Regions from separate parts of the Homo sapiens genome. Here all the other regions are linked to region 4. The links are contacts of gene promoters, found by promoter capture Hi-C in human tissues and cell types (Jung and others, 2019). All regions are on one chromosome and are shown on one strand. Each heading gives the region's core, a stretch centred on a gene start or on the middle of the fragment in contact. The rest is flanking DNA. Distances are from core to core; before and after follow the strand shown.

What was found. Contacts are between HindIII fragments. The study calls those that stand out against the background at their distance.
Region 1: a contact is called between a fragment that was not itself captured here and the fragment with the promoter of ADAMTS9 in region 4, in 1 of the 25 tissues and cell types used here (heart left ventricle).
Region 2: a fragment that was not itself captured here is called in contact with the fragment with the promoter of ADAMTS9 in region 4 in 1 of the 25 tissues and cell types used here (H1 embryonic stem cells).
Region 3: a contact is called between a fragment that was not itself captured here and the fragment with the promoter of ADAMTS9 in region 4, in 1 of the 25 tissues and cell types used here (H1 embryonic stem cells).

The regions. Positions count from the first base shown.
Region 1 is chr3:64,954,484-64,960,470 of GRCh38, forward strand. The region is part of intron 4 of ADAMTS9-AS2 (ADAMTS9 antisense RNA 2); the gene reads left to right. The region is part of intron 1 of LOC105377124 (a long non-coding RNA gene); the gene reads right to left. Among named protein-coding and RNA genes, the nearest start is that of LINC02040, 220 kb to the right of the region's middle. RefSeq lists a silencer at 4,698-4,898. The HindIII fragment of the contact is 5,795 bases long and covers 1,717-5,987 here.
Region 2 is chr3:65,044,283-65,049,532 of GRCh38, forward strand. No RefSeq gene overlaps it. Among named protein-coding and RNA genes, the nearest start is that of LINC02040, 130 kb to the right of the region's middle. The HindIII fragment of the contact is 3,128 bases long and covers 230-3,357 here.
Region 3 is chr3:65,012,981-65,018,104 of GRCh38, forward strand. No RefSeq gene overlaps it. Among named protein-coding and RNA genes, the nearest start is that of LINC02040, 160 kb to the right of the region's middle. The HindIII fragment of the contact is 4,541 bases long and covers 561-5,101 here.
Region 4 is chr3:64,686,090-64,691,334 of GRCh38, forward strand. It overlaps ADAMTS9 (ADAM metallopeptidase with thrombospondin type 1 motif 9), which reads right to left and starts at 1,911. Exons shown (of 40, transcript NM_182920.2): 1 at 1,454-1,911; 2 at 479-879. The coding sequence starts at 1,568. The region is part of intron 1 of ADAMTS9-AS2 (ADAMTS9 antisense RNA 2); the gene reads left to right. The HindIII fragment of the contact is 6,670 bases long and covers 1-5,193 here.

The DNA of each region.
Region 1 (5,987 bases), core at 3,364-5,863, 270 kb after region 4:
CAGGATTGTTCTGCTTCTTGATCTGGATGCTGGTTGCCTGGATGTGTTTATGAATTGTGTTGAGTTTTACAGTTGCTACATGTAACTTTTTTGTAGGTATATCCTACTTGCATCACAAGCTTAGGAAAATAAAAATAAAAACATAAAGCCCTGAAATCCAATTTGTATTTTGGAAACTCATCTTTGTCAAGTCACATGCCTTCTCTGGGCTTCAGTTTTACCATCCAAAAAATGGGAGAGAAATTTGTTAGCTGATCAGAAAGGGCTCTTCCAAATTTATGCCTCTGTGTCTCACCTCTTCCATTCTAATAATTCATTCCTGAAGGAATTAAAAAACCTAGAGAATGAGGCTTGTAGAAGGCTTATAACATCACATGTGTCCCATTTTCAAGGCATTTGTTATAAATTAAAGACACAATCAATGAGCAACGGAAATTATGTCTTTCCAGGAAAATACACATAGTTAATTCTTTCCCAAAGTGCTTGTAGGATAAGTAGGAATATGCCAAACGCTGCCTCTATCACACGTCCTACAGTCATGCCAATCCAAACAGCCTGTGAGGGGAGAGTCAGCAATTTAGGAGGCAGGGCTGTTCCTGGGAGGAAGGAGGCAGCCACTATGCTCATGACTGACGACCTGTTTGCAAAGGCACTTCCTCTCTGAGGGGAGCTGGTTCATAATTTTCCTCTTACTGCTACTGGAAGTCCTTGAATGGCAATATCACAACTTGTACCCATTCACAACAGGAAAAGTTGACATTGGCAGATAATCTTGGCACATGAGGAGGAAAAGTCCAGTACTGACTGTCAGCTTCTGTATAAGAACCAGGAAGATAATTTCTATAGTGTATACTATGATGTAATCATTACACTCGAGGTTGGCCTTCAGCCAGGGACTCTTTTCCTTGTTGTATCCAAGCCCCACTGATATTTGCAAGGCAGGGACCCCAAGGAAATCAACTCAAGGCCCTGAACAGACCCATTGTGTTAACTCTATTTAAGCCCACAGACATGGACTCTTGGGAGAGTGAAGCAGCCTCTGATGAGCAGGGGTGTTATCCTGACTGTTCAGAAAGCTGGGCCTCACGTGAAGGGCTGGTTCTCAGAGGAAAGCTCAAATTAGCAGCTGAAAATAACCAGACACAAAATCTGATAGGGGTTCTCAGGTCATCTAGATCAGTTCTTTTCAAATGATCAGAGGCGAAGGACCAGTTTTGTTTCATTTTATTTGGTTATTTATTTGTAACGATTCACAGGCCAATACATTTTTTTAAATTCAAGAAAATTGAATGATTACAAATGGAATAAAGAGACAAAATATAAGCCCCATTTTTTATTAGTTTCAACAGACATTATTCTGTCCAGCGGCTATAAAAATTCAGAAATTGTCCTTGATCTAGGTGCTGGTTAAATAGATTTGTTTAACTTGTGAAAATCTGTGGAGCAGTAAGCAATGTCTGCAGGTACCCACTGTGAAACAGTGGTAGTCTGTGGATTTCAGGAGTGGTACTCATTGGAGATCTTCACACTCTGTCATGAGTACACTTTTTTGGGAATAACATAATGTTCAAAGTAGGGGAAAGGGTCAGTGGACAGATATTGTAATGAGGATGGGACCCAAGATAAGACAATGGAAAAACAGGTAGAAAAGTATTAAAAGTAATGGCAAAAACCACGATTACTTTTGCACCAACCTAATAAGAATCTCAGAAATCAAGACTTTAGTGAGGAAGCAATTTTTGATGATAATGAAGGAACCTGCTGTTTTCAGAGGAGGGAGGTCGAGGGACATCAGTAAATAACCAGATTAATTACCTAGAATGAAGCACAGAGATCTCTGCTCACTGGGTTCAGCAAATCCATAGGCTAAACAACCAATAGGCAGTACATGAGATATTGAAGTTCTGGTTTAGGTCAGCCTGAGAACACCAGGCAGGTAACGCATTACTTCTTTCCACCCATTTCCTGCTCACAAATTGCAGATGGAAAACAGATTTTTACAAAATCAATTTTCTTGTTTTATCAAATACCAAATATAAAAGCTCATGTCCATATAATCACAGTTAATGATTCTCGAAAGCAAATTTAGAATTAGGGGCAATTACAACAAAACCTTAGCAGAGTAAGTTATAAAACAACTTATTTTCAGTTATAGGAATAATTTCCCACTGAAGGCAACTATTCTTTTTTTTTATTTTTTTAGTGTTTTTGGAAAAGGGACAAATTTAAGTAGGTAAGACAAAAAACTGAAATTCTACAAGCATTTTAGTTTCCAGTCCAAGACAGCTGTTGGGTGATATCACCCATTGTGAAAACAGCCATGCGTGGAGGGAATTGGCAGAAGAAAAGCAAGAACACTCGATATGGGGTGTGTAAACGTGCTTTCTCTGTCTCCTTTGATTTTCCTTATAGCTAGACCCACCTAAAAGTGAAGTTACATATGTGGATGTTTATATGAAGAATAAAGGACACAAGAAAGGATTCAAGAAATGAAAAACGGTGGAGGAAGATAAACATTTCAAGATTCAGATCACGTTGCTGCCCGAATTCAGAGTGTCTCTAAGGAAATAGCTAGAAGGGGTTTTCAACTCTCAGCTTCCTTCCAAGGAATAAAGAATTTGCTGTGAGCAAAAAAACTTGCCAAGAAAATGCCAATTTGTGTCACACTAACATCTTTCTTAAGGCTGAACGTGGACTTCGGAAATGTGAACCTTTGGCTCTGGTGAACACAGTCAGCCTTGAGGGTTTGAAATTAGGTTCTTCAGAAGGACGGAAGGAAATCTGAGAGATCAACTTAGACACCCACTAATTAGAAAATGCACCGACACCAGAGACTTGTTTGCAATGAGTGGTGGGGTCAACCTTTCCATGGCACCTGACGTGAACTTAGAAAAATGGAATCCCTGAAAACGTTTGGAAATGATTTTATCGGAGACAGAGAGAGACAGCAACTGCTGGAGGGAGAAAGAGAGGACAAAAGGCAAACCAAAGTGAGATGCTGTAATCGAGAAGACTTGGCGAGAACAAATGGAAGAACGTTTGAACTTGCTTGTTGCAGACAAAACAACCTTCAAAGGCTACCTTTTTCCTATTTGATGGGGTAAAATTGCTTCCACCAATGCATTATACATATTTAAAACTCTCTTTCTGCATTTATAATCTTCATAGATGCAGCTTCCTCCAAACTTAGGTAATGAATGTAAGATGATGCTCCCTTGGGGGTTGTAAAGACAATCTAAGAACAAGTCATTTCGGAGTAACAAACTTCACAGCTGGGGATACTTTCCATTGCATAAGGCACCTACCCCTAAAGCTTTCATTGTTTCACTCTTAGGCAGTTATGTCATTATTTCACTTACCTCATTGGGGAAATCATTGTTTAACAACCAAATATAAATGGGGAAATAGTCTTCTACTTTATCTTCTCTAGGATAACAGCTTCCCTCCCCCACTTCCCTCCACAGAAGGATTAGTCCCAAATGGGTGATGAATTGCTCTAAACAGTCCAACAATCCCAGAGAGAGAAATGAGAAGAAAAATAACTAGCTGATTACCAATAGGGAACAAATTGGCCACTTGAGAATTCAGTGGCTAGAATGACAAATGAGAAAATGAAAATCCTCATCAAGGGACTAGACTTGCTGATTAGTCCAAGTGCAGATGACCACTTCCCATGCCTCTCCTGCCCTGCTGTGCGATGATTTACATCTGATTGAACATTATTTTTTATTTGGGACCGGATTTCTAAAAGGGTGTTTGGAAAACTTTGAAGTACTTAATTATAACCAGGAGGCATTTGGGGGCTGAGCACTGAAATGGAAGATGCTCTGTGTTGGGCTTATGGAATGTTCATTTAGGGAAGAACCCATGTCTGCCTGGTTTGGTCTGGTTTTTCATTCCATCACCCCTTAAGGCAGCTTTCCAAGGTTTTCTGGACTCTGGAAGAAAATAAAAATGAGAAGCGTATTCTTGGCCGAGGGATCCACATTGAAGGCAGACTCCAGGATTTCAACATGTGGATAGACTGGGCTTTCTGTTAATCATCAATTACTAAAAATAGAAATAATCTGGGACTCCTTTGAAGGGAGACCATTTTTTATGAGACTTCATTTGAACCAATCTGTCAAGGGAAGTTGGGTATATAATGAACAATAGACATTCTTAGTGGTGCTAAGTCATATATGCATGAAGAAATAAAACAGGACTGTCAACCATTATCCTCCAAGTGGACATAGTCACATGAGCTACAGGAATTATGAGGAAAAGGGGAGGTGGAGATTTTGAGTCAGGTGATCAGGATAGGATTCAGAGAGAAAGGGTAATAGGACTCAGGCCTTGAAGGAGGGATAGAGCTATAGTGATTTCTGGGTGGGAATCACTTGAATGAAGAATAGTACTGATTTTTTTTTAAATGATTTGGTACAGAGTAGAATGTGTGTCTTAAGCAAAGCGTTTTTCAGTACAGGAATCTGGAAAGATGAGACAGAACATAAAATTTTACATGTATGAATGGGTCTTTAACACCAGGCAGAGAATTGGGTTTGATTCTAAAAGGACCAGAGGTACATTAAGGATTCTAAGGCAAGTTAGACTTGTTTTAGAGGTCTATTTTCCTCATCTGACAAAAAGAATCAGCAAAACAGCATTCTCTGTAACTTTTCCAACAAGTAAAATCAACATGTAAGACTGCCATTTTGATTCTTCTTTGGTTTGTGGGACCAGTGCTGTGGAAGATAAGAATGAATTAGCACAGTGCCTGGCTCTAGGACTCAACACATATTGTTAAATGCATGAATGAAGCTGAACTATATAGAACCAGAGTACTGTTTCCTAGAACAGATAAAGAAGACCTTATTACCTCAGACCTCTCAAGAGGTATCAATAGAGAATTTGATGGGGGCCCTGGTTGGAAGTTATGTGAACCTGGGCATGTAACTTCACCTTTTTGAGTCTGTATTTCATCATCTGAAAAAGCAAAGGTGAGTTTCATGAATGAGCTTTAATTACAGGAAGATTTTATGTGTATTTTTGGGGAAAGAGATGCCATACATGGCTTGTGTTGGATTCACAGGAGTCCATGATCCAAGATATGGTTAAGAACCACTGGATATTTCTTTTAAACTATAAGAGTCTGTGACTCTGAGACTCCAGGGATGATTTTCCTCCCTGGAAGGACAATTGGAATATCAGACCTCACAGCCCTGCCAATTTTGTTACCTTGTAGGAGGCCTGTGGCTGATTGATTTGACTGAAATGAGGAGGAGAGGATGTTCTTAACTGTCAACCCAGCCTCAGATTCCTCAGCAATTTAAGAACTATTATTGATCTGATCAGCCATTCTGGAACATAATTGACCATTGAAAGAGGCAAATCATTGAAAGGCAGCTGTTCCCAACAGAACATGACACTGGCAACATGGTAGCCTCTGACACAGCCCTTTCTGTAGAATGTTTCCTCTCTCTTCTTCCTTTTTTCAAGTGGGCATGTTCATAGTGGACTCTGTCATAAGGTTATCAGAAAGAATAACTAGTTAAAGATGGGGAAAGCATTTGGTAAGATGAGATACACTTCTGCTCTTAAGGCTATTCTTCAAAACAATATGCAATGATATTTTTGTTGAATGGATACACTCAGCAGTCACTCTGATTTGGAGACTTGTCAATGATGTAATGCTTGCCAGTTAACATGAGCAGTTATAATGAAAATGTTATAGCCCTAGAAGCTATTGTCAGTATAAAACTCTAGCACAGAAAGCTAGTCCCAGTAATTTATAGTGAGGCAGCACTCTTAATGATTTTTGGCTTCATGCATTAATGAACAGAGATGTAAAGGATAAAGGACTTATAATGTAATAAGGAAAACTCAAGAAAAGATTCAGCTCTAATCAAAATAAATTGTGTTTTTAGATTGATTTTCATAAATTCAACCATTACCCTTTATTTATACCAAAAAGAAATGCATCATGCTAAGCTGATTCCTATCATTCA
Region 2 (5,250 bases), core at 544-3,043, 360 kb after region 4:
TTGTATTTTTATATTTTTAGTAGAAACGGGGTTTCACCATGTTGGCCAGGCTGGTCTTGAACCCCTGACCTCATGATCCACCCACCTTGGCCTCCCAAAGTGCTGGGATTACAGGCGTGAGCCAGCGCGCCTAGCCAGGACTCCTATTTCTAAACTGAGTTGGCTTCTAATCCCAAACTTAACAGGACATGGTCTGAAGACTAAAATTTTCTCCACGGTTGAGAGCGCCTGATCAACACAGAACTGCTCGCTCTTCCCAAGAAACCCCTTCCTGCCTCTGGGTTCATAAGATCAGATGTTCTCAGCCATGGAGAAAATTTTAGTCTTCAGACCATGTTGTTTTAAGTTGGAGATTAGAAGCCAACTTTTTTTTCCTCCGCTTGGTCAATTATGCATAGCTTTTCCTCCTTGTTTTTCTTTAAGGCTAGTCAGCTGAATAAATATAATCCCTTCTTGGTCTTGTATACCAGATATTAATTCCTTTTTTCCTAGGTTAGGATTCTCTACCATAAAATGAACATCCTGAAGTTGAAGGGGATCTTATAAAGACTCTACCTTAGGCACCACAATTTGGTTATGCATGGGCTGAATAAAACCCCAGATGTGTTTTTTGTTATTGTAGTTTATTTAGTTTTCTTTTAGCTAGCATATTCTCTTATATATATATAAACTTACATGTAATTCACATGTGATACAATTCACCCCTTTACAAAGTGTAAAATTCAGTGGTTTTTAGTATATGTACAAGGTTGTGTAACCATCACTACAGTCCATTTTAGAACATTTTTATCACTCCCAAAAGAAACTCTATGCCAGTGAATAGTCACTCCCCATCTACCTTAGCTAAATCCCACAGGCCTAGGAAATGACTAATCTAATTTCTGTCTCTATATATTTGCCTATTCTGGATATTTTACATAAATGAAATCTTACAATGTGTGGGCATTTTTGACTGGTTTCTTTCACTTAACAGCATGTTTTCAAGGTTTATCTATGCTGTAACATGTTATAACTTTTAATGGCCTAATAATATTCCATCATATGGATATACCACATTTTATTTGCCCTTTCTTCAACTGATGGACATTTGGGGGTTTCTCCCCCACTTTTTGGCCATTATGAACGATGCTGCTATAAACATTTATATGTATACAACTTTTTGTGTGAATATGTTTTCATTACTCTTGGGTATACATCTAGGAGTGGAATTGTTAGATCATATAGTAACTCTAAGTTTAAACTTTTGAGGAACTGTCAGACTACTGTTCAAAGCAGCTTCAAAATGTTAAAGTCCCTTTGGTAGTGTATTAGAATCCTGATTTCTCCACATCATCATCAACACGTTATTATTTGTAATTTTTATTATACCCATCTTAATGGGTGTTAAGTGGTAGCTCATTATAATTTTAATTTGCATTTTTCTGATAACTAATAATGTTGAGCATCCTTGCATGTGCTTATTGACATTTTGTATATGTTTTTTGGAGAAATGACTATTTGCATCTTTACCCATTGTTTAATTGGGTTGTCATTTTATTGTTGAGTTGTAAGAGCTCTCTATATGATCTAGGTAAAAGTCACTTATCAGATATATGATTTGCAAATATTTTCTCCCATTTCGTGGGTTGTCTTTTTACCTTCTTGATGGTGTCCTTTAAGTGAGACAGCTTTTAATAATGATTAAGTCCAAGTTATTTATTTTGTTGTTGTTGCTTGTGCTTTTGGTGTCACACCTAAGAATCCATTGCTTAGCAAAGTTACAAAGATTATTTTATTCTAAGAGTTTTGTAGTTTTAATTCTTACCTTTAGATCTGTGACCTATTTTGAGTTCATTTTTGTGTCAGATGTGAGGGAAACGGCCAACTTAATTCTTTTGCAGGCGGACATCAAGTTTCCCAGCATCATTTGTTGAAAAGATTATTCTTACCACCATTTAATTCTTCTGATGCCTTTGTAGAAAATCAGCTGACTATAAATGTGGTGGGTTATTGCCAGACTCTCGTTTCAACTCCACTCATGTATATGTTTATCCTTATGCCAGTACCAGACTGTCTTGATTACTGGCATTGTAGCAAGTGAATCCACTTGCTACATTTTTGTAGCAACAAAATATGAATCCACTAACATTTTTCTCATTTTTTCTAGATTGTTTTAGCTGTTCCGGGTTCCATGAATTTTCATATAAACATTAGGATCACCTTGTCAATATTTGCAAACAAAAAAATAAGCTACTTTGGATCTTGAAAAGGATTGCATTGAATCTATGAATCATTTTGGGGAGTAATGACATCTTAACAATATTAAGTAATTCAATCCATGAACATGGGATGACTTTCTATTTATTTAGGTTATCTGTAATTTCTTTCAACAGTGTTTTATAGCTTTCAGAGTATAAATTTTGTCCTTCTTTCATAAAGTTATTTCTCAGTATTTTACTCTTTTGATGCTATTGTAAATGGATTTAATCTGTTCATGTCAGTTTCAGTTTGTTCACTGCTACAGTGTGCAAATACAGTTGATTTTTGAATATTGATCTGTGTCTTGCAAACTTGCTGAACTCATTTATTAGTTTTAATAGTTTCTTTAGAGTTTTCTATATACAAGATCATGTCATCTGCTAATACAAGTAGTTTTACTTTTCCTTTTTAATTTGGATGTCTTTTATTTCTTTTTCTTGCCTAATATCCTTGACTAGAACCTCAAGTATAAGGTTGAGATAGCATAAGTGGATATTCTTGTCTTGTTTTTGATCTTGGAGGGAAAGCTTTCCATCTTTTACCTTTAGATATATTGTCAGCAGCTGGACGCGGTGGCTTACGCCTGTAATCCCAGCACTTTGGGAGGCTGAGGTGGGCAGATCACTTGAAGTCAGGAGTTCAAGACCAGCCTGGCCAACACGATGAAACCTCATCTCTACTAAAAATAGAAAAAATAGCCAGGCATGGTGGTGCGTGCCTGTAATCCCAGCTACCTGGGTGGCGGACACAGGAGAATCGCTTGAACCCGGGGGACAGAGGTTGCAGTGAGCTGAGATCATGCCATTGCACTCCAGCCTGGGCAACAGTGTAGGACTCTCTGTCTCAAAAAAAATTAAATAAATACATAAATAAACTGTTAGCTGTGGAGTTTTTGTACGTGCCCTTAGTCAGGTAAAGGAAATTTCCTTCTAGTCTTATTGCTTTTGTTATGAAGGGATCTGGAATTTTGTCAAATACTTTTTCTATATCTATCAAAATGCTTATATGTTTTTTGTTCTTGATTCTACTGATATATTATATTAATTGATTTTTAAATGTCCATCCAAACTTGCATTCCTGGGATAAATCTCACATTGTTATGGAATATAACCCCTTTTATATATTATGGAACTCAGTTTGTTAGTATTTGGTTGAATATTTTGTGTCTATATTCGTAAGAAGTATTGGTCTGTAGTTTTCTTGTGATGTCTTTGTCAGATTTTAGTATCAGAGTAACGCTGCCCTCATAGACTGATCTGGGAAATGTTCTTTTCTCTTCTATATTTTGGGAGAATTTGGTGAATAATTGATATTAATTTTTTAAGTTTTGGTAAAATTCACCAGTGTATTCATCTGGTTCTGGCTTTTTTTTTTTTTTTTTTTTTTTTTTTTTTTTGTGGGAACTTTGTTACTCCTGAATTCAATCTCTTTGTGTTTTATGGATCTACTCAGCTCTCCTATTTCTTCTTGAGTAGTTTTGGTACTTTGTATATTTCTAGGAATTTGTCCATTTCATCTGGGTTATCTAAGTTGCTGATATACCATTGTTTATAATATATGTTTGTAATCATTTTTATTCTGTGAAGTTAGTGGTAATAACCCCTCCTCCAATCTTTAATTTAGCAATCAGTGTCTTCTCTCTGTCTCTCTTTTTTTCATGATCAGACTTGCCAAAGGGATCTTGTCAACTTTGTTGCTCTTTAGTAAGAAGCTTGGGCATGCCCACAGTTAAACTGGGATGAGAGTGTTTTTAGTAGGGCTCTCTTTCACTGTCTCTTTTTCTGAACTTTCTGTTAAGCTGTCTGCTTCTGTTGGTATCACACCCAGCTGTTAGGCTCCACTAATTGCTGATTCACTGCTCTATCATTTTTTGGCAATTTCCTGGAGCATAAAGTGCCCCATAGTCTGATGCAAATAAATTCAGGCCCCCTTTGCAAGGGTAGGCTTTAAATCCAGTTTTCGAGGTTTGTTCTGATCCAAGTAAGGCTCTTCTTAGCTTTTTCCCTGGTTCTCTTCAATAAACTAGTTGGTCTATAGTTTAGTTTGTTGTTCTCATGTTGCAACCAGCCTCCTTACCACGAAAAATCTCCAAGTTTTTGAGATCACCCTTAGGCTTGAACTTTCTTTACCACACTTTCTTCCAAATAAAGTCAGTTCCTAAGAGGAAAACTTCAGAACTCTGTTCTTATACCTGTCTCCCTTGGCAAAACATCTGTACCTATTCTGTGGAGCTAGGATTGGGAAGAGCGGCCCATTTCTCTTGAAGAGACACTCCTGCTTTATGAGCAGGACACTGAGTGAGGGAAGCAGCCTCTGGTCTTCTGGACTAGCCTTTGCTGACAGCTGGCCTAAAACCTCTACCTATGAGAGATCTGGGTTGAGTGTCATCTGAGCTATAGTATTCTCAGCTTGCTATAACTGAGTAGATCCTCTGTCCTGTGATTGGCGGCTGAGTAGAGAAAGGGAATCCCCCAACCTCTCATTCACACTTACCTGGAATTTAGCCTCTGTATCACAGAGCACAGGAGAATCAGAAATGCTAAAAACCTGCCCCTCCAGGGAAGATTCTACACCACTTGACTTGGAGCTTAGAGAGGAGGGTACCCTATCTTCTTGGCCACATCTTTTTGGAATGGAGTTTCTTTGAACTGTGGGGCAGGGGAGGGAGGATAGGGAGAGAGTAGGTCATGACTCAAATGCTACAGATGCTCATTGTTCTTAATAAGATTTAGTCGATTTAAAAAAATATTTCATCATCTGCTATATGCCATTATAACAATTTCAGAGACTTTAGCTTCTTAAAAAAATATTTTTTATCAATTATGGTTGTTCCACTGGGCAGAGAGCCACAGAGCTCCTCACATTGTCATTTTGGAAGCAGATTCTAAGTTTGATTTCAAATACCTTTAGTCACAGCAGTTACTATCCAGTTGACCACCTGGCCTACTACACCCTATTATCTTATGACAGGATGCTTCTCATATTCTTTTGTAAAATCCTTTCCAAAATAGC
Region 3 (5,124 bases), core at 1,581-4,080, 330 kb after region 4:
TTAGTAGAGACCCCAAAATATTCATGCCTCAGTAGTAATGCAAAATTGTCCCTACAATAAAAACTACAGTAGCTCCCCCTTATCCATAGTCTTACTTCCTGGAGCTTCAGTTACCCACAGTCAACTTCAGTCCAAAAATATTCAATGGAAAATCTCAGAAATAAGCAATTCATAAATTTTAAATTGTACACTGTTCTGAGTAGCATAACGAAATTTCAAGCCAGCCCACTCTGTCCCACCCAGAACATGAATCATCCCTTTGTCCAGTATATGCTACCCTCCCATTGGTCACTTAGGTTATCAGAATGACTGTGGCAGTATCGCAGTGCTTATACACAAGTAACCGTTGTTTCGTTTAATAACAGCCCCCACATGCAAGAATAGCAATGCTGGCAATTTGGATAAGCCAAAGAGAAGCCACAAAGTACTTCAAGTAAAAATGTGAAAGTTCTTGACTTAACAAGGAAAAAAAAGTCATGCTGAGGCAGCTGAGATCTACAGTAAGAACACATCTTCTATCCTTGGAATTGTGAAGAAGGAAAAAGATATTTGCTAGTTTTGCTGTTGCACCTCAAACTGCAAAAGTTACCACCACGGTTCATGCAAAGTGCTTAGTTAAGATGGAAAAGGAGTTACATTTGTGGGTGCAAGACATGAACAGAGAGGCATTCCAATCAATAGCAATCAGGTTCAGGGGGTACCTTCCTCAGTTTCAGGCATCCACAGGGGGTCTTGGAAAGTATTCCCCATGGAGGGGGGCGGGGAGGGCTACTGTACTCCATACTTGTTCTAATAAAACTTTTTAGAAATCTCAAAAAGATTAAGCTAATCTACATGAAATTTAAATGCTTGCTAGAACAAAGCACAATGCTCTTTAAGGGAGCAAAACTAAATCCAGACAATCAATACTGTAACACAATGTTTAGCAACATGCAATAAAAAAATTACTAGACACACAAGAAATTAAGAAAAAACGTCCTTTCCATGACCAGGAGAAAAATGCATCAACAGAAAGAGACCCAGAAGTGAGAGAGATGATAAAAATTAGTGGACAAGGACTTTCAAACAGCTATCAGTAGTTTAAGTATGTGTATAAAAACATAAATGCAATGAGAGAAATGGGAACTGTAAAAAAGAACTTAGTGAAACTTCTGAAGCAGAAAAATATAATATCCGAAGTGAAAAAATTCACTAGATAGTTGCAATAACAGTTTGATATTGCAGAAGAAAAAGGTCAGTGAGCTTGAATAGAACAGAGAGGAAAGTATAGTCTTTTCAACCATTAGTGCTGTAACAATCAGACTGTATTGAAAAAGACTAACTTTGGTTCCTACCCCTTACCACACGCAAAAAGTAAACTAGACACAGATCACGGAACTAAATGTAAAACCTAAAACAATAAAATTTTATGGCCTGGCCATAATGGATTTCTTAGACCATAAAAAGTACTAACCAAAAAAGACCAAATTGTTAGATTTCCTCAAAAGCAAAAACTTTTGCTACTGACAAAGCACCAATAAAAAATAAGTCAAGTCAAAGATTGAAAGAAAATATTCACAGTGAACATCATAGAGTTGTATCTGGACTATAAGAAGAACTTTTATGACTCAATAATATAAAGACAACTACATTTTTAAGAGGAGCAAAAGATTTGAACATACACTTCACAGAAGAATATAAGGGTCAGTAAACACTAAAAGATACTCAACATCATAGTCACCATAGAAACGCAATTTTAAACCACAATGAGATACCACTACACACCTACTAAAATAGCTAAAATGTAAAAAGGCAGATATTACCAAGATTTGGAGAGGTTTTAGGAGTACTGGAAATGTCATACATGGGTAGTGAGAGTGTAAAATAGTATAAACATCTTAGAACACAATTTGGTAGTTTCTTATAAAGTTAAAGACATGCTTATCATATAACTCACCAACCCCTTTTCTAGGTATCAGCCCAAGAAAAATAAAAAACATATGTCTGCTACACAGACTGCTTGTCTACCTATGTATCAACACTTGTTGAACATAATGTGAATGAATCTCAAAAATATTTTGCTGAGTAAAAGTGCCCAATCCCCAAAAACTACACATCATATGACTCAATTTGTTTGAAGATCTAAAACAGGTAAATCTAGTCTTTATTGATAGAAAATATAATGGCAGCTGGGGTTAGGGTGGGAGGTTGCCTGGGCAGAAACAGAAGGTAATATTTTAGTGAATTGGGAATTTTATGTGTCTTGATTTTGGTGATCATTATACATATGTATGCATATATCAAAACTTAAACTGGACACTTAAAATAGATACATTGATTTTGTCTCATGTAAATTATACTTCAATAAAGTTAATAAGGTGTGCATATTTATACCCTTCTAGGGAAAAGATACTACAGACTTCCACCCGCACATCTTTCATGTCACGCATGTTTTCAATTTTTCTTTTCAGATTTGTGTTATGCTGTCTCTCCTTTCCTACTCCTAGTTTCAGCCCCACTACCACCACCATGCTTCATGACCATCTCAGACAAACAAAATTAGTGACAGTTGTCATGACAGTGAATAACCTCAGAGGTACAAAAAGAAAACTGCACAGACTGTTCCCAACTAGGTGGCAAACCTGTGAAAAGTTTGTAGCATACGAATTGAGATCTACGAATCTATCTATAATCTTCTCACATTAATGCCATGATGCTTCATTTAATTTTTGCTTACACAGATCTCTAACAACTCTATTTTTTTCTTCTGAATAAAAACTAAGAATGTTATCCCAAGTCTGTGCATCCGAATGTCATGGGTGCATGGGTGAAGGAAGGCAGAAAGAAACTTGGAATAAGATTGAACAGCTGTAGTCATGCTTTCATTATTTGAAAGCTTTTTGGACCAAAGATAATACACTGTGGGATTTGTTGCCAAAAACGTCAGATTTTTGGTTCCAGCTCATGGTCCAGAAGCTGAAAGTGTGTCAACTTGGTAATAGTATCCAACAATAATTCAGTTCTATAGTCTTTGTAGAATGATGGACAAAATGAATGTCAACAACATTAAGCAGCCAGAAACCAAAGGTACCTTGTGACCTAGCAGCAAGGAATAAGAGAATCTTAACAGATGTAATTTATAGCATTACTGTTGATGAAGTTAGTAACCTTTAGCAAGGAGACATAGAATCAATAGCAGCCTGGCAGTTTGCAGCTGCAGAAATTTATGTGGGAATTGACCAGGAAGTAAGGTGCAAGAGGAGTTGGCAGAATATTTAAACCAGATGAAAAAATTTTAGGTTAATTATAAAGTGTCCAAAATGTGGAATTAGAATGATTTCTTCAATTTCCTACAAAATGGACCAATGTTTATGAAAGCATCCCAAATGTAAAGAATTATACATTGATAAATGTACAGAAAGAACATTTCGGTGTTTAAACTGTGGCATTGAAAGTGCCAAATGAGAAAATACATTTCAGAAATTCAGTGCATGCACTTACATTTATCAGTGCACCCTCTCTTTCTCTGCTTAGATTTTATGGTGTTATTATTGAGATTCATATAATACAGCCTATTCAATTGGACAATTGGAATATTGTTATACACAGTTAATCAACAGACTCTGTATAAGTGATAAGGCCTCAGAGAAGAAGAATATTAGAGCTCAACTCCAGCACGATGAGTCGTTAACACCCTTGGGAATGTATAGCTGTTAAACAAAACAAGGAGACCATATTGCCCTGTGAATTCAAAGGGATCTAATGGGAATTTCAGAGTAAATTTATTTTAAGGTATGTAGGAAGCCTAATCATTTAAAGTGCTTTTTCTATTCCGAAGCAACTCATCCCACCACATCTTTTCATTTAGTACTGATCAGTTTCCTTAAAAGATTAGAAGGTGAAATGATGCACTCCAAAAAGAGTGATCCTTCTTAATATTTTGCATTTAAAACTCCTTTCACAGCCTCCTACGAATCTGTATTAGCTCTCCTGTCACAACTTAATGTATATCTTTTGGCCTCAGAAAATTTGGGGGTGTTTAGGATGTTTGTTTTACACTAGTAAAACCTATCTAAAAACAAGCAAAGTGCTCACCAAAAATAGAAGGTACCATCAAAGTGACAAAACAATCAGGTAATTGTGGGCAACTTAGATGCTCAAGTCAGCAGGAGACAGGTTTATATCCTCAAACCTCGTATACTGCTGTTCAAAATATTCATTTAAAAAGTGATGGTAAATAAATCCAACTTTTTATAACTTTTTGCTGTTTACTCCCTCACGAGTGTGTCAACTTGAAGTCAGTGATTAATTTTGGAGTCAAGGTCCAAATGCAATTGCACCTGCCTGTAGAAATAACAGTAATATTTCATAGAAGTCTTTCTCACTTTTCACTGTCATATTTAGAAACCCCAAATAGAACATTGCATTAAAACTAAGTGAAACTGCAAATGACTTTTATGAAAGAGGATAACATTTTTAGCAGTGACTTTTTTGACTTGGGAAGACTGGGAGTTTGAATACTGTGCTGTGTACACTAGCTCTTTCCATGACACCAACTCTTGTTAGCTGCCTACATTTGTCCCAGTAATAATAGCAACCACAACTACAACTAACGTTTATTTGTTGTTGTCAATGTTGGCATGGATATGGAGAAAAGGTTACACATATACATTGCTGGTGGGAATGTAAATTAGTTCAACCTCTATGGAAAACAGTATGGAGATTTCTCAAAGAACTAAAAATAGAACTACTATTTGATGCAGCAATCCCACTACTGGGTATCTACCCAAAGGTAAAGAAATTATTATATCAAAAAGACACCTGAACTTGTATGTTCATCACAGCATTACTTATAATAGCAAACAACCTATGTGTTCATCAATGGTTGACTAGATAAAGAAAATAGGGTATGTGTGTATGTATGTGTGCGTGTATATATATATATGTACATACATACACACATACCCTATTTTATATGATATAAATATATATAAAATAGAATACTATGCAACCATAAAAAAGAATGAAATCCTGCTCTTTGTAGCAACATAGATGGTGCTGGAGGCCATTATCCTAACTGAACTAACTCAGAAACAGAAAACCAAATACCGCATGTTCTCACTTATAAATAGGAGCTAAACAATG
Region 4 (5,245 bases), core at 661-3,160:
CCCTCCACAACACACACTGAAGGAACTCCCAGTGCCTTGGGCAGGGGATCCTCAGCCCCACATCCCCGATGCAAGGCGCACCAATAAGGAGTCTGGTCCGCCCTGCGCTCAGCGGCTCCGCTCCCGGGTGGCCAAGTTTGCTGCAGGGAACCGCAACTCCAGTAACTTTCTCCGAGTTTGGAAACTGACTTCCAGGCCGCCTCGCAGCGTTGGGCAACGCGCCGCTGAACCGAGTCCAAACTCCAGAAAGCTCTGAAACATCCAGAAGCCCCTGGGGGCGGGTGTGTGCGCTCCACGCCAGTGTACTCGCACGCACAGAGCTAGCTACCCAAACCATACGAGTTTCTAGCTGATATTTAACGCCGGAGAGGAGCGGAGCCTCGCCACAGTGAGGGTCTCTAGGCTTAGAGGACAATTAAGTCTTCTAGAAGCGGGCGAGGAGGCGGAAGGGGAGAGGAGGTGGCGCGCGCCCACTTACCATTCCTGAGCAGAGGCTGATGACGGCCGTGTGCTCGGAGTTGGTATTGACATAGCCTTTGTAGAAACAGTGCTTGAGTTCCGCTTCCTCTTCGGAATAAAACTTGGTCTGATTCACCCCGGGCGTCCCGAGGAGGGTGACAGTGAACAGTGGAGCGATAAATCCGGCATTGGCGGTGAGATTAAATAGAAACTGCTGGCCGAAGGCAGAGAGGCGGTAATGCGCCTGGGAGGAGGTAGAGGAGGAAGAGGAGGAGGCGAAGGCAGGCCAGGGGTCAGTGGCAGAGTTAATGCTCCGTCGCGTTCTTTTGAAGTGGACGTTCGTGGGAAAGGGTTCTCCGAGAGCGTTCACTCGGATGGGAGACACGATTTCGTATTCGCTCAGGGTCTCTAATAATTTCACTGCGGAGAGAAGCAGAGGTATATGAACCAATAATTCATTTTTCCTTAAGCTTTAATTTAAAACGAAGGTGGGGACTTTGTTCTGACCTTATTTTCCAGCCCATTCGAGTCAATCCCTTCACCCTTAATCAGTGGACAAATATTTGCTGAGCACCTACTATGTGCCAGTAACAGGACCTGTGCTAGGTGCTGAGGATACACTATTCCGAGCCAGACAATTAACAAGTCAAAATATATATGATTTCAGATATTGATAAATAACCTGAATAAAATAAAACATGACGCTATCTGGTGCCCCCAATTACTAAGTTACTTTAGTTTGCGGCGTGGGAGTGGGGATGGGGATATATCTGGCAACAGCAAGGTAGGGGGGGGTTGCCTAAATTCGTTTCCATAGTGTCCCTCCCTAGCAATTGGTTGGGGATGACCCAAAGAAGGGAGAGGCTGCAAAGCGGGAGATAATTCTTTCTAGGAAAAGGAGAGAAGCCTCCGCTGCGGGGTGCCCCTGCCCAGGAGCGAGGACCGGGAGGCGGCGTCGGGGCCGGCGGGGTCCCGGGGGCCGGAGCCTGGTTACCTTGCCTCGGGTGCAGCCTGTCCTTGCGCACGGCCGCCGCGGCGTCTGGGCTCCCCATCTCGGCCAGGTCCCGCACCAGGAGCGTTAGCAGTGTGGCCCAGGATACAAACTGCATGGTGCTTCCCACCCCTCCCTCCGCTGCCCCCACCCCCCTCCCTCCTGCCCTCCTTGGCTGCGGCGGCGACGCGAGGCAGCGGCCGTGGAGAGCGCGCGGAGCCCGGCGCCCGCCGCCAACTTTTGACTTTAGGAGTCGCTGAGGTCTCGCTGCGAGGGTCCCGTCTGCGCTCGGCTGAGCAACGCCGCCGCCTGCCGAGAGCTGAGCCGCTCGGGCCGCAGGAGGAGCCGGAGGAGCAGGAGGAGGAGGAGGACTGGGGCTCGGCTGCTTGGCCGCATAATGCCCAGCGAGCGGGCAGGAGAAGGCGAGGAACTTGCGCTCCGAGGCGCGCCGGGCGCCCTGTGCTGGCCGGGATAGCTGAGCGGCTTCTTGAATGGGGGGCTGGGGGGGCGGAGGCGGGGGGGCCGCGGGTCCACAGCCTCTCAAATGCCCCCGGTGCACGCCTCTAAGAGGAGGAGAGGGGAGGAGAAAGCGAGACGAACGGGGACCGCCTCCTTCCAGACCATGTCCCCTCCTCGGCCGGCCCGTGCGGGACTCGCAGCCGGAGGCCCTGCCGGCTGCAAGAGGCGGAGGCCAGAGGCGTCACCAGCGCCGGGGCAGCTGTTCCTGGTCCCCGCCACCTCGCTGAAGTGGGGTTTTCTGAGATTCCCTGCCCCGGGGAGGGAAAGCAGGGAAAGTTCTCTCCCTTTCCTGGCGCGCGTGCAGCCACTTCCCCTCTCGTCTTTTTCCTCTCCTCTCCTCTCTCTCCTCCCTTCCGAGTCTCTTTTTCCTCCTCCCCCTTGTCTCTCTGCTGCTGTGCCTCTCGGACTCTGTCCCTTCTCCCCATTTTCCCCTGTGATGTCTGTCTTCTCCCCGCCCCACCGTGTCCCTGTCTGTTTCTCACATTTCTCCTTTTCCTTTCCTTTCTCTTCCGTCCCCATCTCTTGCCACCAGTCCCCATCTTTTGGTTTCTTACAAGTGAAAGTGGCCCAGCGCCGGAGCGCCTTCCCTTCCTACACTTTTTCATTCGGGAAGAGATTTGGCACCTGAGCTCCGCTCTCGATTTAATCACCCCAAGTCAAGAGTTTTAGAAATGGGGTTCTTAATCCTGCAGGTCGGAGTGTGTTTCTAATACGTGGTCTCTTGAAAATTTCGCAAAATATTTAAGCTGTGCTTTCCACCAACCTCTGTCACCATTCATGGAGGGTCCATAGCATTCTGTAGGTCCCCTGCCCCAAAAAAGGTTAAGAACAAATTTTGGCAGCAAGAAGGGGCGGGGACTCTGGCGCCCCTCACTACCAGGGGGTTTAGAGATGGGAGGGGAAGGGGGGATGGAGTGTAAAGTTGTAGATCCCTGTGGGAGGCACCAGTCCCTGGAGGGATTTCTCAATCACTTCCGCTTGCTTTCAGCCTGAGAGATGCTTGGAAAGACTGGGAAAGACTGAAAGCAGGCGCTTCAAGCTACACCTTCGTGTGTGTGTGTGTGTGTGTGTGTGTGTGTGTGTGTGTGAATTGTTCAATCTTGGGTGGTTCAGTGGCGCCTTTTCTTTAACCAGCCCTCAGGAAGATAGAATTTCAAGATAATTTCAAGAGGAAAGACATGACAATATCGTTAAAAATATATAAATATATGACTAATAAATATATATTTGCCCAAGTATCCTAGAACGGGGGTTGAGGTTCTGTTGCGTGGTAGGTTAGCACTCAGGACTAGAAATACCAAAGATTGCCAACACCAGGAACCAAATCGCAATATGCTAGCAATGTCAACTATTCTTGAGATACTAATACATATATTTCTTCTGGTGAAGGGTAAAAATGACTTGGCAAGACGAATTTGCTAAATAATTGTTAACCCAAATTGATAATGTTACCATCGTCTTATTACTGGAATTTCATAATGGATATGTAAAATGTAAGGATGGAAAAATAACATCTGTATTGTGCACAATTAGAGATTTTTAGAGAATGGCATTTAAACCTTGAACCTCCAAATTAATTCACTAAAATACGTTTCTTCTAATACACAATCTTTCTTTTTATTATAACAACATTCCCCACAATCACAGTGTCTGGGAGTTGCTGAAAATTTAGTAAGGAACAGAAAAATATCAAGAAATCAATCTATTGGCTGATTCCTGTGGAAAATATTCCAGTACTTCCATTGTAAAATTACTCAAAAATATAGCACTTTCCAGTATTTCCCATTAAATCTTTTTTTCTCTTTCAGTTCAAATCCTTCCTGACAAAGAGAAGTTAACTAATGGTATAGAAATTACGATATGTAGGGACAGAAGCCTCCTTTGTGTACTCTCTCTCCTTTGCTTTCTTTCTAGGACTTTGCTTGAAGAATGAACTTTGTCTACAGTTTTAAAAAATTGATCCACAAGAGCTGATAGGCCAGAAAGATACAAAATATCTCTTGGTGAACTCCTGAGGTGACCAAGAACCTAGGTTTATGAATTTCTCATCCTTAGTGAGTCTACCCATCTTTTCTTCAGTGTATTAGCTGGCTTCTGCATTTACATCTGTAAAAAAGTCTTAAAGAATCTTAGGAAAATGTCTTTTAAATCGTGAGACATGAAAAAGACAGTTGAGCTAACTAAGCAAGTCAGGCAAAAATCTTTTGTCTGAATAATTACTCTTTGTCTAAATAAGTACTCTTATTCAGTACTTACCATGGGGTAACATATAGCATTTAATTTAATTCTCAAAACAGCTCTTTCAGGAAGTCAGTGTCAGTAATCTCATTTTACCAATAAGGATACCGAGATCTGAATAAGTGAAATAATTTGACCCCCCTCAATCCAGTAAGTGAGAGACACGATTCAAACTCCGTTTCAGTCGTTCAATCCAAGTTCATAACTATTATCATATGTCATGAATAACTGATTAATCAGAAGCACTGCTAGATTTTTGGAGGGTTGCTTTGTGGGAAAATGGCTAAAATCATTCAGAGAATTGCCTCAAGCTTTTATTGCATGTATAACTTTTCTTTAGCTCTCTCTTATTCTTCTCATGCAAAGTATTTAATGAAAATCATGTCAGCGATTTCATTGATATTTCACAGCTTTTCCCTCAGCAGTTAGAAGAGATCTGGCACATAGTAGGTAGTCAATAAGTATTTATTAAGACTAGGCATGGTGGCTCACACCTGTAATCCTAGCACTTTGGAAGGTTGAGGTGGGAGGATTGCATGAGGTCAGTTCAGCGGTTCAAGACCAGCCTTGGCAACATAGCAACCCCTTGTCTCTACAAAAAAAGAGAAAAGAAATAATAAAATGAAATAAAATAAATTGGCCCCTCATAAAAATTTGCTCTGAAAGAAGCAAACCTTTTCAAGGTCACCTGGAGTTAAAGGAGGGACAGTTTTTAGCCCGTTTTCTTCGTGGGACTTTACTGGAATTGAATGGTATTGTAGGTTAAGTGGAAGTATTCATTGGCTGATTCGTCATGAAAATTAGATCCCAGAGGAGTGATGAATGATATTAGTCACTAGGGAGAGATAATCCGGCCAATGGAAATGACAGTGATGACATCACAAATGACTCTGTTTGCCTAATGCCACTGGAAACAGCAGGAAGGAGACTTGAAGCAAAGCCATCAATTTCCACAGAAAGGGGAAACCCACACCCAAATGGTAGGGAGGGCCCAGGAGCCAGAATTCAAGTGAATAGTTTCCTGAGTGGTCAGCAGCG